Linked DNA regions of Homo sapiens: region 2 is linked to region 1. The links are contacts of gene promoters, found by promoter capture Hi-C in blood cells and fetal thymus (Javierre and others, 2016). All regions are on one chromosome and are shown on one strand. The core of a region is centred on a gene start or on the middle of the fragment in contact, and the rest is flanking DNA. Distances in the headings are between cores, read along the strand shown. Region 1 holds the start of METAP2 (methionyl aminopeptidase 2). Region 2 holds the start of NUDT4 (nudix hydrolase 4).

What was found. The method cuts DNA at HindIII sites, captures the fragments that hold promoters and counts their contacts. A CHiCAGO score of 5 or more calls a contact.
Region 2: a contact is called between the fragment with the promoter of NUDT4 here and the fragment with the promoter of METAP2 in region 1, in 2 of 17 cell types (non-activated CD4 T cells and total CD8 T cells). The highest score is 8.6, in non-activated CD4 T cells.

Annotation. Positions count from the first base shown.
Region 1 is chr12:95,471,758-95,477,870 of GRCh38, forward strand. It overlaps METAP2 (methionyl aminopeptidase 2), which reads left to right and starts at 2,395. Exons shown (of 11, transcript NM_006838.4): 1 at 2,395-2,573; 2 at 4,314-4,421. The coding sequence starts at 2,423. RefSeq lists an enhancer at 2,212-2,611. The HindIII fragment of the contact is 1,745 bases long and covers 1,448-3,192 here.
Region 2 is chr12:93,375,789-93,382,784 of GRCh38, forward strand. It overlaps NUDT4 (nudix hydrolase 4), which reads left to right and starts at 2,137. Exons shown (of 5, transcript NM_019094.6): 1 at 2,137-2,633. The coding sequence starts at 2,535. It overlaps LOC643339 (a long non-coding RNA gene), which reads right to left and starts at 1,948. Exons shown (of 5, transcript NR_040096.1): 1 at 1,649-1,948. RefSeq lists an enhancer at 1,733-2,672 and silencers at 1,909-2,248, 2,469-2,768. The HindIII fragment of the contact is 6,665 bases long and covers 1-4,545 here.

The DNA of each region.
Region 1 (6,113 bases), core at 1,145-3,644:
ATAGCCAAATGACCATTCTAGTATTAGAATCCATGTCTCCTCTTAAATACCTCTTAAATTTTTCTTTACCTTCCCTTTGCCAAGAATACTCTGCCAGGCGCAATGGCTCATGCCTGTAATCCCAACACTTTGGGAGGTTGAGGCAGGTGGATCACCTGAGGTCAGGAGTTTGAGACCAGCCTGGCCAACATGGTAAAACCCCGTCTCTACAAAAATTAGCTGGGTGTGGTGGTGGGCGCCTGTAATCCCAGCTACTTGGGAGGCTGAGGTAGGAGAATCGCTTGAACCTGGGAGGCGGAGGTTGCAGTGAGCTAAGATCAGGCCACTGCACTCCAACCTGGGTGATAGAACGAGACTCCGTCTCAAAAAAAAAAAAATACTCTCTCTAAACCTTTCCCCTCCCCTTTGCCTATTTATCCTTCAGATCTCAGCCTAATTGCTACTTCCTCAGGAAACTCTACCAGGCCATCCTACCTAGGCAAGTCCCTTTGTAATATGCTCTCATAGCAGCAGTTGTAAATTTGCTTTTATTAGCATCATTGCTTGATGTCTATTTTTGTTAACTGGCTCTATGATGACAAGGATCATCTCTGTTTTTGCTCTCTAAATATTGCCAGATCTAGGTTTATAGTAGGCATTGAACGAATGGATGGATGAGTGAATAAGTGAATATGTCAGCCAAGCAAAGAGCAGCCCAGATAAAAGTAACAGTGAGTTTGAAATGCTCCAAGGTCAGAAAGAGCTTTGAGAGCTGGAGCTATAATAGTAAGAGAGTGGAGACATTGGAGAAGTAGATATGGCTGGGTCTTGCCGGGCATTTTAAAGGATTTTGGACACATGGAAGCTACTTCTATTTTTATTTTTGTGGTATTATGTTTGGTTTACCAACTTTTTATTTTTTATTTTATTTACTTTTTTGGGGGGGATGGAGTCTCGCTCTGTCGCCCAGGCTGGAGTGCAGTGGCGCAATCTCAGCTCACTGCAACCTCCCCCGGGGTTCAAGCGATTGTCCTGCCTCAGCCTCCCTAGTAGCTGGGACTACAGGCGCCTGCCACCACGCCCGGCTAATTTTTGTATTTTTAGTGGAGACGGGGTTTCACCATATTGGCCAGGCTGGTCTCGAACTCCTGACCTTGTGATCTGCCCACCTCGCCCTCCCAAAGTGCTGGGATTACAGGCGTGAGCCACAGCGCCCGGCCGGTTTACCAACTTTTATATTGCCAGCAATCAACTAGGGAAAACAATTTAAAATCTAAATAGGGATAGATTTAAAGAGATAAAGATCTGTACAAGAATAAGAGGAACAGTTTTTATTACTATTGGATAGGTGCTGCCTGAAGCTTTAAGACAGAGAATGTACATTTATGCAGCTGCAGTCAGAGCCTGTGTGAGGTTTACTGTAAACTCACTGGCAATAAGGCTCTTAACGACATTTTGATGCCCATGAAGCTTGGTGCCTAGTTTAAAACTAATGAAAACACCTAAACTCTCCAGGTGGACAAAGCCATATTCAGGAGAAATTGAGAAGGAGTTGGTGCAGGCAGCCAATCACAATCCACTTACGCCACAAACTAAATCTCAAACTGCGGTTTGAACATGAGGCTCAAAACATAAGAAGTAAAGAAATGGGCAAAATTCAATTAGTTTCTGGTGAAACGTCCTAAATCCAAAAGAAAGGTGACCAGAAATAGAGAAAACGGAGTGTGATCTTTTGCATTAATGAGAGAGACCGTGTCCCCGTGTGTTAAAACCTGTCATTCTTGTCCTGAATTGGAAAGTGAGCGGAGTGTGACGGGTTCCCATCTTGAACCGTCCGGGGTTGAGTAGTACAATAAACTAACACGGAACTCCAGCTTCCAAAATTCTCTCCAGTGCCTACAGAGCCTCGCGGAGAGCTGTGATTGTGAATGTCAACGCAGATTTGATTAAATCTCTTAGATTTAAGAGATATGTGGAGTCATGACAATAGAAATGTGTACAAGTGAACACATTTCTTAGCCCGTTTCCCCACTGCCTGTGTGATTTATAAAAACGCAAATATAAAATATTTCCGTTCCAGCAGAGACGCCGCTTGCTACGGCGGGTTGCCCGTCTCCACAGGTATCTCCGGCTGACTCTAGAGCTCAACTTCCCCTTTAAACTTCACCCTGCGCTTGCCGATTTGCTTCGGGAATGCCCGAGGCACCGGACGAAGCAGTCGGGTCTGGCCCCAGTCGACTCCAGCCAGGCGGGGCTCCAAGCCGAGACTCCTGCACGCCCGGCCCGAAGCTAGCCCGACACCCTCAGCTGAGTCCTCCGCCGTCCCAGCATTCCCTGCGTCCCTACCATCGAGAGCAGCTTCCGGCGTGGCTGGTGTAGGCGGGTGGAGAAGGATCGGGGCCCTCGCCGCTCTGTCTCATTCCCTCGCGCTCTCTCGGGCAACATGGCGGGTGTGGAGGAGGTAGCGGCCTCCGGGAGCCACCTGAATGGCGACCTGGATCCAGACGACAGGGAAGAAGGAGCTGCCTCTACGGCTGAGGAAGCAGCCAAGAAAAAAAGACGAAAGAAGAAGAAGAGCAAAGGGCCTTCTGCAGGTAAAGAGAGTTTTATGTTTTCCCAGTCCCCTCCGGGAACGGCTGAACTGTTTGGCTCAGGCCCGTTGAGGGGGCCGGGACCGGGGCCCCAGAGCCCCGACTAGACTGATTCTTGGGCCTGACAGGGTGGCAAAGCCGGGCTATAGATTCCTAGTCTGAGAAGAGGCGTCATCTCCTCCTGTGGGACTAGAGGGCTGGTGGGGGAGAAAAGAGTGCCTGAGGTTGGCGTGTGGTACCTCTGGGGTCGCTGGGCCCGAGCCCCTGTATTACCAGAACTCAGCTCCCACGCACATCGTGGCACGGTCTTGAGATTGTGCGCAGAGCACAGCCCTACCATCTTTCGCGCGATTTGGCCGCCGCCTCAAAAATCCGATTCTGATCCGTATTGCCGCGTCTTTGCTGGTTTGCTGGAGCAAGCTAGGACTTATTTTCTTTGGGGGTGGGCAAATGTAATGGAGAGCACACCTCCTCCCACTATCCCGTTTCACGTTGGGGTTGTTGCAGCCTGCACTTTTGGGGTGTGTGTACATGTGTGTTTGCCCGCGCGCTCATGTCATTAATTGCAGAATTTGTGGTGGTGATAACGAATTTTCACCTGCCTAATCCCATAGCATCGCCAAGCTTTAGGGCCTTTAGACCTGAATTATGATACCAATTGCAGGCAGTGCAGATAGGATATTCTGTGGCTCAGAATGGAACTTCTGAGGTCTTAACCTCTAAATCCACTGGTAAGGCAAGGAGAACTGCTGAGAGTTTACAGTTGGATATTATGAACTAGGAACTTACATATTTTGAGAAGTCTGTGTTTTTGCTGCACAAGCTCCTTCACCTTAATAAAAATTATTTTTACTTGTTTCTAATTAAAATCGCCAGAGAAACAGAAAATGGAGAAGTCAGAAGCGATTAAGATGGAATTGAGAGAGGTCGAAGAGAGCTAATCTTCATCTTTCTGAAATTTTGATTAGATAGGAATGGAAGGAGAGTTGTAGCGTTGCTGGAACTCTTCCAGAGCAAAATTTGTTACTCTGGTGGCTGTTCCTGGATTTCGAGTGAAATTCAAACACTGCTGTTTGTCTTGTAAGGTGTTAAGCTGACTGATCCTAATGTATTTTTAACAGTTGTATTTCTTAATATGAATTCTCTCCAGTAGCCAGAATGTCACTTCATTTCGTGCTACCTGATACTATTAATGCATGTAACATATTGCTCTTATAGGTAGGTTATAATCACTTCCAGAGCAGGGGCCTGGTCTTGTGCTTAGATATTTGAGCGTTTTAGTTTTTTAGTAATGGACTGTCTTTGCCTATTTATTTTGACTTTACCCAGCCCATCGTGATATCCTTATTCATGAAACCAGGCTGCCCCGGGGTGTTGCACATGAATCTTTTTCCTAAGGCCTTCAGCATTTATTACCTATCTGGTGTTTAAGTATTTGTTAAGTCTAATTGCTGACCACTATTACAAGTTAAACTACTTGAGGATAGAGACCAGTTCACGCTGTTTATCTTTTAGCTGCTAGTGTGTGTAATGGATATTTTGTTGAGTAAATTAATGAATGGACAATACTGTGTAGGTATGGAAGATTTTTCTGTCATTAAACGAATTCTGTTATGTTCACAATAATGTTTCTGTTTTTGTTTCCTGAGGAAAGGATTTGTAAGTTTTCCAAGATCATTAGAGCATATTCTAGTGGGAAAGTGTCTGTATTAGATTTGATTTCTGCTATTTTATTTTGATCAGCAGGGGAACAGGAACCTGATAAAGAATCAGGAGCCTCAGTGGATGAAGTAGCAAGACAGTTGGAAAGATCAGCATTGGAAGATAAAGAAAGAGATGAAGATGATGAAGGTAAATGGTTAATTTGATCTTTGTGGTTAGAAAAGCTAGAAAATGTAGCCGGGTGTGGTGGCACACACCTGTAATCCCAGCACTTTGGGAGGTCGAGGCGGGTGGATTACATAAGGTCAGTAGTTCGAGACCAGCCTGGCCAACATGTTGAAACCCCATCTCTTCTAAAAAGACAAAAAAAAATTTAGCCGGGTGTGGTAGCACACACCTGTAATCCCAACAACTTGGGAAGCTGAGGCAGGAGAATTGCTTGAGCCCGAGAGATGGAGGTTGCAGTGAGCTGAGATTGCACCACTGCACTCCAGCCTGGCCAGCAGAGTAAGACTGTCTCAAAAAAAAGAAAGAAAGAAAGAAAGAAAGAAAAGCTAGAAAATGTGATATTCCTTAATCAAAATTTATTTACTCGTATAGTGTTTTCTCTGACATTTCACTTGTTACCTCAATTAATGTCACAGATTAAAAAGGAAAAGGTATTTATTAGCAAGTCTTGAAAAAGTTCAATGTGTTAATTAGCTGTTCAGATAGGACAGATCTCAGAGTTTAAAAATATACTTGGTAGAAGGCAAAGTAGTGAGTATTAATAAGATTGAGGGGTTGTTTATTTAACTAATACTTACTGAAGAACTACTATGTACTAGATACTTTCCTAGGTTATTTTCACATACATTCACATTTTAACCTCACAAAACCAAGCAAAGTAACCTACTTGTGCTTAGATATCCATTTTGTTTTTTGGTAATGGACTGTCTTTTCCTATTTATTTTGACTTTACCCAGCCCTTCATGGCTTTACCCAGCCATCTCATTTTACAGATAGGGAAGTGGTAGTTACATGATTTACCCAAAGTGACATAGCTAATATGTGTAGAATAGAGCCAGAATTTCAAACCTAGTGCCTGACTGCACGTTTGTTCCTTTTACTCTCTATTTTTTTTTTTCTTTTTGAGACCGAGTCTCGCTCTGTCGCACAGGCTGGAGTGCAGTGGCGTGATCTCGGATCACTGCGACCTCCCGAGCTCAAGCAATTCTCCTGCCTCAGCCTCCCGAGTAGCTGGGATTACAGGCGCCTGCCACCATGCCCAACTAATTTTTTTGTATCTTTAGTAGAAATGGGGTTTTGCCAGGTTGGTCTTGAACTCCTGACCTCAAGTAATCTGCCCACCTCAGCCTCCCAAGGTGCTGGGATTACAGGTTTGAGCTACTGTGTCCGGCCTGTTCCTTTTACTCTCTATACCAAAATTAACTCTTTTCATTCTGAAAGAATCGTATAGGAGTGCACTAAGTTTTATTATAAATTCCTTGACCCTAGCTCCTTCTGGGTGTTTGGGTACAATAAGATTTTTTTAAAGACAGCAACTGCTAATTGATGTTATCAGTAAAACAGTGAAGGAAGAGACAGGTAAGAAAACTTAACTTTTTTCCAGCCTCTTTTGGCGGAGGAAAAATGGGGCTTTCCCATTCTTTTTATTTGTAGCTGCCTACTACTGAGAACATCTGCTCCCCCTCAAGCACCACCAGCCTGGGGTTAGGTCTTTAACCATTAGTTGGGGCTGTAATTATTGTGTTAGGGTAATGTAGAGTAGTTGTTTTCCTTTAGAGTGGTATGTTCTCTGCCTTCAAGAAGCTTATAGTGAACATTTGGTGGAAAAAAGTGCCAAGATTCAAGGGAATTACTAGCTTTTCCTCTTCCTTA
Region 2 (6,996 bases), core at 887-3,386, 2.1 Mb before region 1:
AACTTTGAAGGGTTTTAAACAAAGGAAATGGAATCTCTTTGTCATTTAAAAGGCCACAATAAAACAAATAAAAGTAAAAAATAAAAAAGACCATAGTGAGGAGGGTGCAGTGGCTCACGCCTGTAATCCCAGCACGTTGGGAGGCTGAGGTGGGCAGATCGCCTGAGCTCAGGAGTTCGAGACCAGCCTGGGCAACATGGTGAAACTCCACCTCTACTAAAAAAATCCACAAATTAACCAGGCATGGTGGCATGCAACTGTGGTGGTTACAGGTACTCAGGAGGCTGAGGCCGGAGAATCCCTTGAGCCTGGGAAATGGAGGCTGCAGTGAGCTGAAACAGCACCATTGCACTCTAGCCTGTGCAACCAAGCCAGGATTAATAACTTTATTGATGTGAACCAATTATCCAAAAATAATAATCACATATTAGCCATAGCGGACTCCCCAGCTAGATGTTTTCTGCCTGTGTTTGTAAATCCTGGACATAGTTAAATTTCAAGTGCCTTCAATAAGAAATCAATGGCTTGGAAAACATCTCTGCGCAGTCTTGATAAGATTTCTAATTGTGGTGAAGCCTCATTCCTTAAATTATTTATTCAACACTAACCCATTCTACAAACTTACATCTGCTGGGCTCTGGGAGTAACAAGATGAGTTAGATGCAGCAGTCCCAAATCTAAAGGAGGTTGGAGACTAGAAAGACCAGTGCCTGCTCTGAGCTCTCCAGTGGTCCCCAGCCTCTCAGTCAGGCCTCACAGGCCCCTCTGCCAGAGGCGGAACCAGCTTGCCTCCGCTCTGCAGCCACACTGGCCTTTTCTTTCATTTCTGAGAACTCTCCTCACTCCCTCCCACTTTGGGCTCTGCAGAAATCCCAGTTCCCTTTGCCTTGAAAGCTCTTGGTCAATTTAGCTCCTCCTCCTTCAGCCCTCAGCTCCTGCCTTGCTGCCCCAATAATCTTTTTCTGACTGCAGATCTGGTCAAATCTTTGTCTGAAACCTTAGAGCCCATTACATTTGTAGTTTTACGTGTACACGTGTGATCATTTAATATTTGACGGTGTGCTCTCAGGTGCCTACGCTCCTGGAGAGGCAGGGGCTGACTGGTTTTGTTAGATGCCAGTGCCTGACACACAATAGGCCCTCAAGGGGTGAAAAACCAACCAACCAAGTCAGGACCCAAGCAACCTGGGCCTCTGTGGAAGGGCAGAATGGCCTGAGTTTGGGTTTCTCGAGCTACCTTAAGATCAGGCCTCCTGGCTCCTATCTTAGCCCTTCTAACACTCTGAAGTGTAGAGGTTGTTTGTTCCAAGTCCCCAAGGTACTGTAAGCTCCCAGATAGCAGAAATCCCATTATATTTTAGTGCTGTGGCCCCAGCATCCAGCTGCGCTGTTACTTAGCATGAGATCCACATGAAAACCATTTCGCAACTATTAGCCATTGCCAGTATTAATACTTTCCGGAAGGTGGCACAAAGTGGGGGATGTTATAGACAGCTTCAAAGAAACGTTTAAGCTAGAGTTGACTCTTTAAATAATACAAGCCATCCCCAACCAAAGATTAAAAATTTAAATACAAAAAAAAAAAAAGGAAATTTGCCTACCCCCCATTTGTGAAAACAAAGAAAAAAAAAACAGTTAACGTCTTAACTTTTCTAGGCCTTCACTCTCGCCTCTCCCCGCGCTACAAGGGCGAATTCTGGACGTATCTACACAGTCACCGCGGAGTCTGCAATCGCCGCGACGTCCCCTGGCATTTCTTGGCCAGGCTGCAACTTTGGTGACGGTGTATGTAGTTACATCCCCTGTAGTGCAGCTGGTATTTAGGGTCCTCATTGGCAAAGTTGAGGGTATAAGCAGGGAGGGAGGGGACCTTGGCTTCTTTCCATTCACTGGCATGTTTTCGGGGCACGGTCATCCCACGCTGGGCTCCAGCGCCAGTCCCAAGGCCTCGCCGAACTCCAGCCCGGGAGTGCGCGCGGCCCCGCCCACCGGGCGGCCGAGGTCCCGCCCCTACCTCCCCCGCCACACCTACCCACCCACCCCATTGCAATGGTCTCTGCACGCAGGCGCAGTGGCGCGCGGGGGAGGCGGGGCGCATGTGGGCTTCATTTAAACAGAGCAGAGGGGGCGGCGCGCGGTCGCCGCGGTGCTGCTGCTCAGTGGGAGCGGGTCTTCGCAACTGTCTCCGCGTGGCGCGCGCCTCTAGCCGCCCTTCCCCTGGCGGCTACGGCCGGAGGGAGCGGAGGCGAGCGGGAGTCGGGCTCCATGGAGAGCGGCGGACAACTGGGCAGAGGCGGAGCTTTCATCTCGGCACCCTGGTTCCAGTGACCCGCGCTAGCGTCCCGTCCCGCCCGCGTCGGAGCGGCCGCCGGCCCCGGGACTGACCGGCCTCGCCGCACCTCCCGCACCGACTAGCGCTCCCGGGCGCTCCTGCGCCCGACTCGCCCTCGCCCCCACTCCCCGGCGGGGTGGCGGCGGCCGGGCCCCCACGGCGGCGGCCGGAGCAGCAGCAGCAGCAGCAGGAGCCCGCCTCTATGATGAAGTTCAAGCCCAACCAGACGCGGACCTACGACCGCGAGGGCTTCAAGAAGCGGGCGGCGTGCCTGTGCTTCCGGAGCGAGCAGGAGGACGAGGTAGGGCGCCCGGCGCCGCACGCTGCCCTCCGGGGCGCCGGGGTCTAGGGCCCGGGTGCTTCCCCTCGCTCCCCGCCCCTGCGCAGGCTGCGGGGCTGGGAGGGATTAGCCCCCTTCCTCCCTCCCTCCTTTCCTCCCTCACTCCTTTCCTCCCTCACTTCTTCCTTCCTTTCTCTGGGCTGATAGATGAGACAAAGGGGGCTCGCCCAGCCCCAGTTTCTCCATCTGGGCACTCGAGAAGGCGCCTGGTCCCCGGGAAGGTCCCGGGCCGCGTAAGTCTCGCCTAGCGGGAGTCACCATCTTAACGTGCGAATTGAGTTGAAAGCCGGATAAACCTCGAGTGCTCAGCGAGAGGAGGGTGGAAATGGCGTGAGTGTTGCAGCAGAGCCCTTGTGCCTCTTTTACATATTTTCCTTCCATGTTACAGCCGTTTGCGGTCTCGGATTCGATCTAAGCATGTTTGTGGAGTAACAGACAGTCCTCGTGCTTGGAATTGAGTCTAGTCTTGGCAATTCTTGTGGGTCCATGAACCCGCAAGCTGTTGGCATAATTATGCCTCATTTTTAAAACGGCCTTCCCTTCTTAAAGTTTTCTGACTGCAGAAAAATGGTTAGTGAAAAATGTGGAATAATGCCAAAAGGGAGACGATGGACTAGAGATGGGCAAAGCTGCCATTTTCAGACAGTAATCTCCAGCTCTCAGCTTATGTATAAAGGGTTCTTTGCTGTCTGGCTTGACATCTGGAAAGGAGTAGCCTTTCTCGTTCTCAGAGCAGTCGTTCTTGGATAATTTACCCATCTGCATTGGGCTGAGAATGAGACCCTTGGGGTTTCCCTGGAGAGCGATTTTTACTTAATTCAGTAGTATTTATTTAAAATGGCTAACTGTTGAAGTTTGCTTAGGGCAATAGTAGCCTTTTGGTATTGCCACTCTTAAGATAAATTACATAGGTGAAAAAAATTAACATTCTGAGTTCTGCTTTCATAACCAACCGTGTATAAAATACTAGGCTAAGGCTGGAGATGGGAATTTAATGGCTTCCTTACTGCTAGTCCCTGTAGTTGTGATGAATATGACACAGAATACACTCAGTGGCTTAGTTCTTGTTATGTTAACGAAAAGTTCTCGAAATTTGCCCTTCAAACCCTTGTTTTGCCTTTATTTTTTTTTGAAAAGAAACCAAGCCCTTTAAATGGGTTGCTCTGTGCTCACTCATAACCTTTACGTATTAGACTTGAATCCCAAACGAGTGTGCAGAGAAATACGGCCCCAGCCTTTGAGATGGGTCTGCTTAGGAGAGCTAGAAACTGCAAAGGGAAAGGTTATTAACTTTTACAAAATGAACAAGTCAACAAGCATTAAGTGTGTTCTGTAAAAAAGATAAAGCCTTAGCGGAAAGGGGCCATGTTGAGGCAAAGTAGTAAACTTTAAATATAAAAGAAATGATAGCCAAAAGGGATCAAGATAGATCAAGGATCTTGTCTGGTTTCCTCAATATTGTGTAATGATATTCTTAATTGAGTGCTTACAATGTGCCAGGCGCTGCCAGAAGAAAACTTGTTATACATTTAATCCTTTTAACACTGGGAGGTAGTGAAGTTACTCCCATTTTATAGGTGAGGAGACAGTTGCAGAGCATAAGTACCTTCCCAAATGACACAATTAGGAAGTGGTAGAGTCAGGATTCAGGGTCCAGTCCTTACTCCTGATGTTGGGCTCTGTTTGTTGAGTGAGTGAGATTTTTGTGAGGCTAAGTTTGGAAGCCTATCTGAAAGTGGTGACTGAAGTGTTGCCATAATGTGAACTTGGAATTCAGGCTTTGTAAAAATACTAGACTCTAGGGGAAAATATGAGTGATGGAAATTGAAATGATGATCTCTATTGTGCTTATGGTAAAGCAAAGACTGATAGAAGCTTTAGGAATTACTTTAGCAATAAAAATAAATGATTATTTTTATGCTTGGATATTATTTCTACTGAAATAAATACTAAATTCATAGCCTCTAGTTGAGTCAAGAGACCCGTGTCATTAGGTAAGGTGAAGTAGGGAGCAAGTTTTGGAGAATGTATTAGAAAAATCCATTGTATAAAACTTTGTAAATCTGATAACCTGTAGGTTGAGAATTGAAGAGAGTGAGTCATCTTGTTAGAGGATATGATCTGAGGGAAGACTCTAGAATTCTCCTTAAGTGAAATGCACAGCCAATTTTAACATCTGGTTTAGCTCTTCAGAATTTTCATTTCTGTGATTGTGTGTAGTTGAGGCTTTATCTATTACATGATTATTACAGAATAAACTCTGTTAGCTTTCCTGGAGATTCTATTGTTTCTCTATGAATTTGCCTTCACTCTGTTGAAATTGCATTGCCAGACTTCCCAGGACAGTCTAGAAAACCAGCTTGAGCCCACCTCTCTAGTTAATAGGTGAGAAATGTTTCCCTCTACTGGATGAAAAACACCTAGATCCTGGTTAGAAGATTTAAATGTATGTTTTGTTTGAGGATGAAATGTTTATATAGAGTACAAATGGAAGTAAAAGAGTAATTGCAATTTGACCCCAAAAAAGCTACGTGGCGCTCCCATCTGGCTGTTCCTGTACTGAAGTTCTCAGTAAGTTTCTACTTTAAAACAGATTGTTCTAGGAAAGAAGGTTGTTCTAAGAGCAGAGTTATTCTTTTAAGGTGGCTTTATATATTAAATATTTTCCATTTTATCTTTTTCTGTTCTGTAGGGTAAATAAGTATTAGTATTTGTTTAGGAAGAAATTAGGTAGCAGAAGTAACCTATCCCAAGGTCACAGAAGCTGGCAGATCCTTTTGAGCTCTGGTCCTTTGTTTCTAAATGTTTTGTTTATTTGACCTACCTCCCCAGCTAGTTATTTCTGTGGGGAAGCACCCTCAGTTTTGGCCGCTGGGCTTCTAGACAGGCCCACAGCTAATTGCCCTGTAGAGTAGCTGGGTACTGTGCTTGTACAGTGAAAGATGACAATGCTTTTACAAATAGGTAATCAGAAATGGATTCTGTTGAATGTATTTGCATATATGATAGTTTAAAAGGGGATGAAGAGATGAGGTCTTAGCTCCTAAGAATCATTCTGTAGGGAAAGGTTGGACAAGGGATCAATGGAAAGGGAAATAAAGTAAGGGAAAAGTGCGGTCGGGTATTCTGGGGTTCAGATCCAATGTGAGTCATTTGGAGTTGGATGTGGGTGACTGGGAGAGGAGGGACCAGGCGTCCCAAATAGAGCAAGACTTGGGGCTGTGATAGATTTGGCTGCAGCTTAGGGATAGCATAGAATCAGTAATAGTTGAAAAATTTGCAACACTTCAAATGTAAGGTTGAGAAGTTGCTACGCAAGAACAAAGTTTTGTTTTGAACTTAGTTTTGAACAAAGAACATTGAGATAGTAGATGTGTTCAAGCTTGAGAGTGATCTGGCAGCAAAATAGGTTTAGACTGCTAAGGGGAGAAGTAGAATGACTTGATCCTGTGTGAAATCCAGACATAGTTGCAAGAGAGGCATTAACAAATCAGTCTGAAGGACTAACCACTACAGGCCAGGCAGGTGGCTCATGCCTGTCATCCCAGCACTTTGGGAGGCGGAGGTGGGCAGATCACCTGAAGTCAAGTGTTTGAGACCAGCCTGGCCAACATGGCGAAACCCTGTCTCTACCAAAAATACAAAATACAAAAAGCAGCCGGGCGTGGTGGCATGTGCCTGTAATCCCAGCTACTCAGGAGGCTGAGGCATGAGAATCCCTTGAACCTGGGAGGTGGAGGCTGCAGTGAGCCGAGATCATGCCATTGCACTCCAGCCTGGGCAACAGAGCAAGACCCTGCCTGCAAAAAAAAAAAAAAAAACAACAAAAAAAACCACTACTCTTCCATAGGACTTGCTGCCCTAATTAGCTTTTAAGCTCTATGAGCCAGGGGCTGTCTTCTACAGATGGTCTGCTATAATGCTGAATATATATTCCTGAAAAATCTTGAGCTGTACAAAATCATGCAGTAAAGCTTTGGTGGGAAAGGTCAAGTCTGAAAACCTAAAACCAGAGCTCCGATGAGCAACAATACTAATTCAAAATATTACTAGAGTTAAATCTCAACTAGCATTTTTATACTTAGAATCAACAGTCAGTCCACCCTTTTCACACATACTCTGGGGCTCATAGTTCTTCAGAGTTAAGTCCTTGAAGGTATTTCTTTCAAATGGAGACCACTTTCATCAAAAATAAGTACTATCCAAAGGTAGCCTTTTTTTTTTTTTTTTTTTTGAGACAGAGTCTCGCTCTGTCCTCCAGGCTGGAGTGCAGTGGCGCGATGTCAGCTTACTGCAAGCTCCGCCTTCCAGGTTCACGCCATTC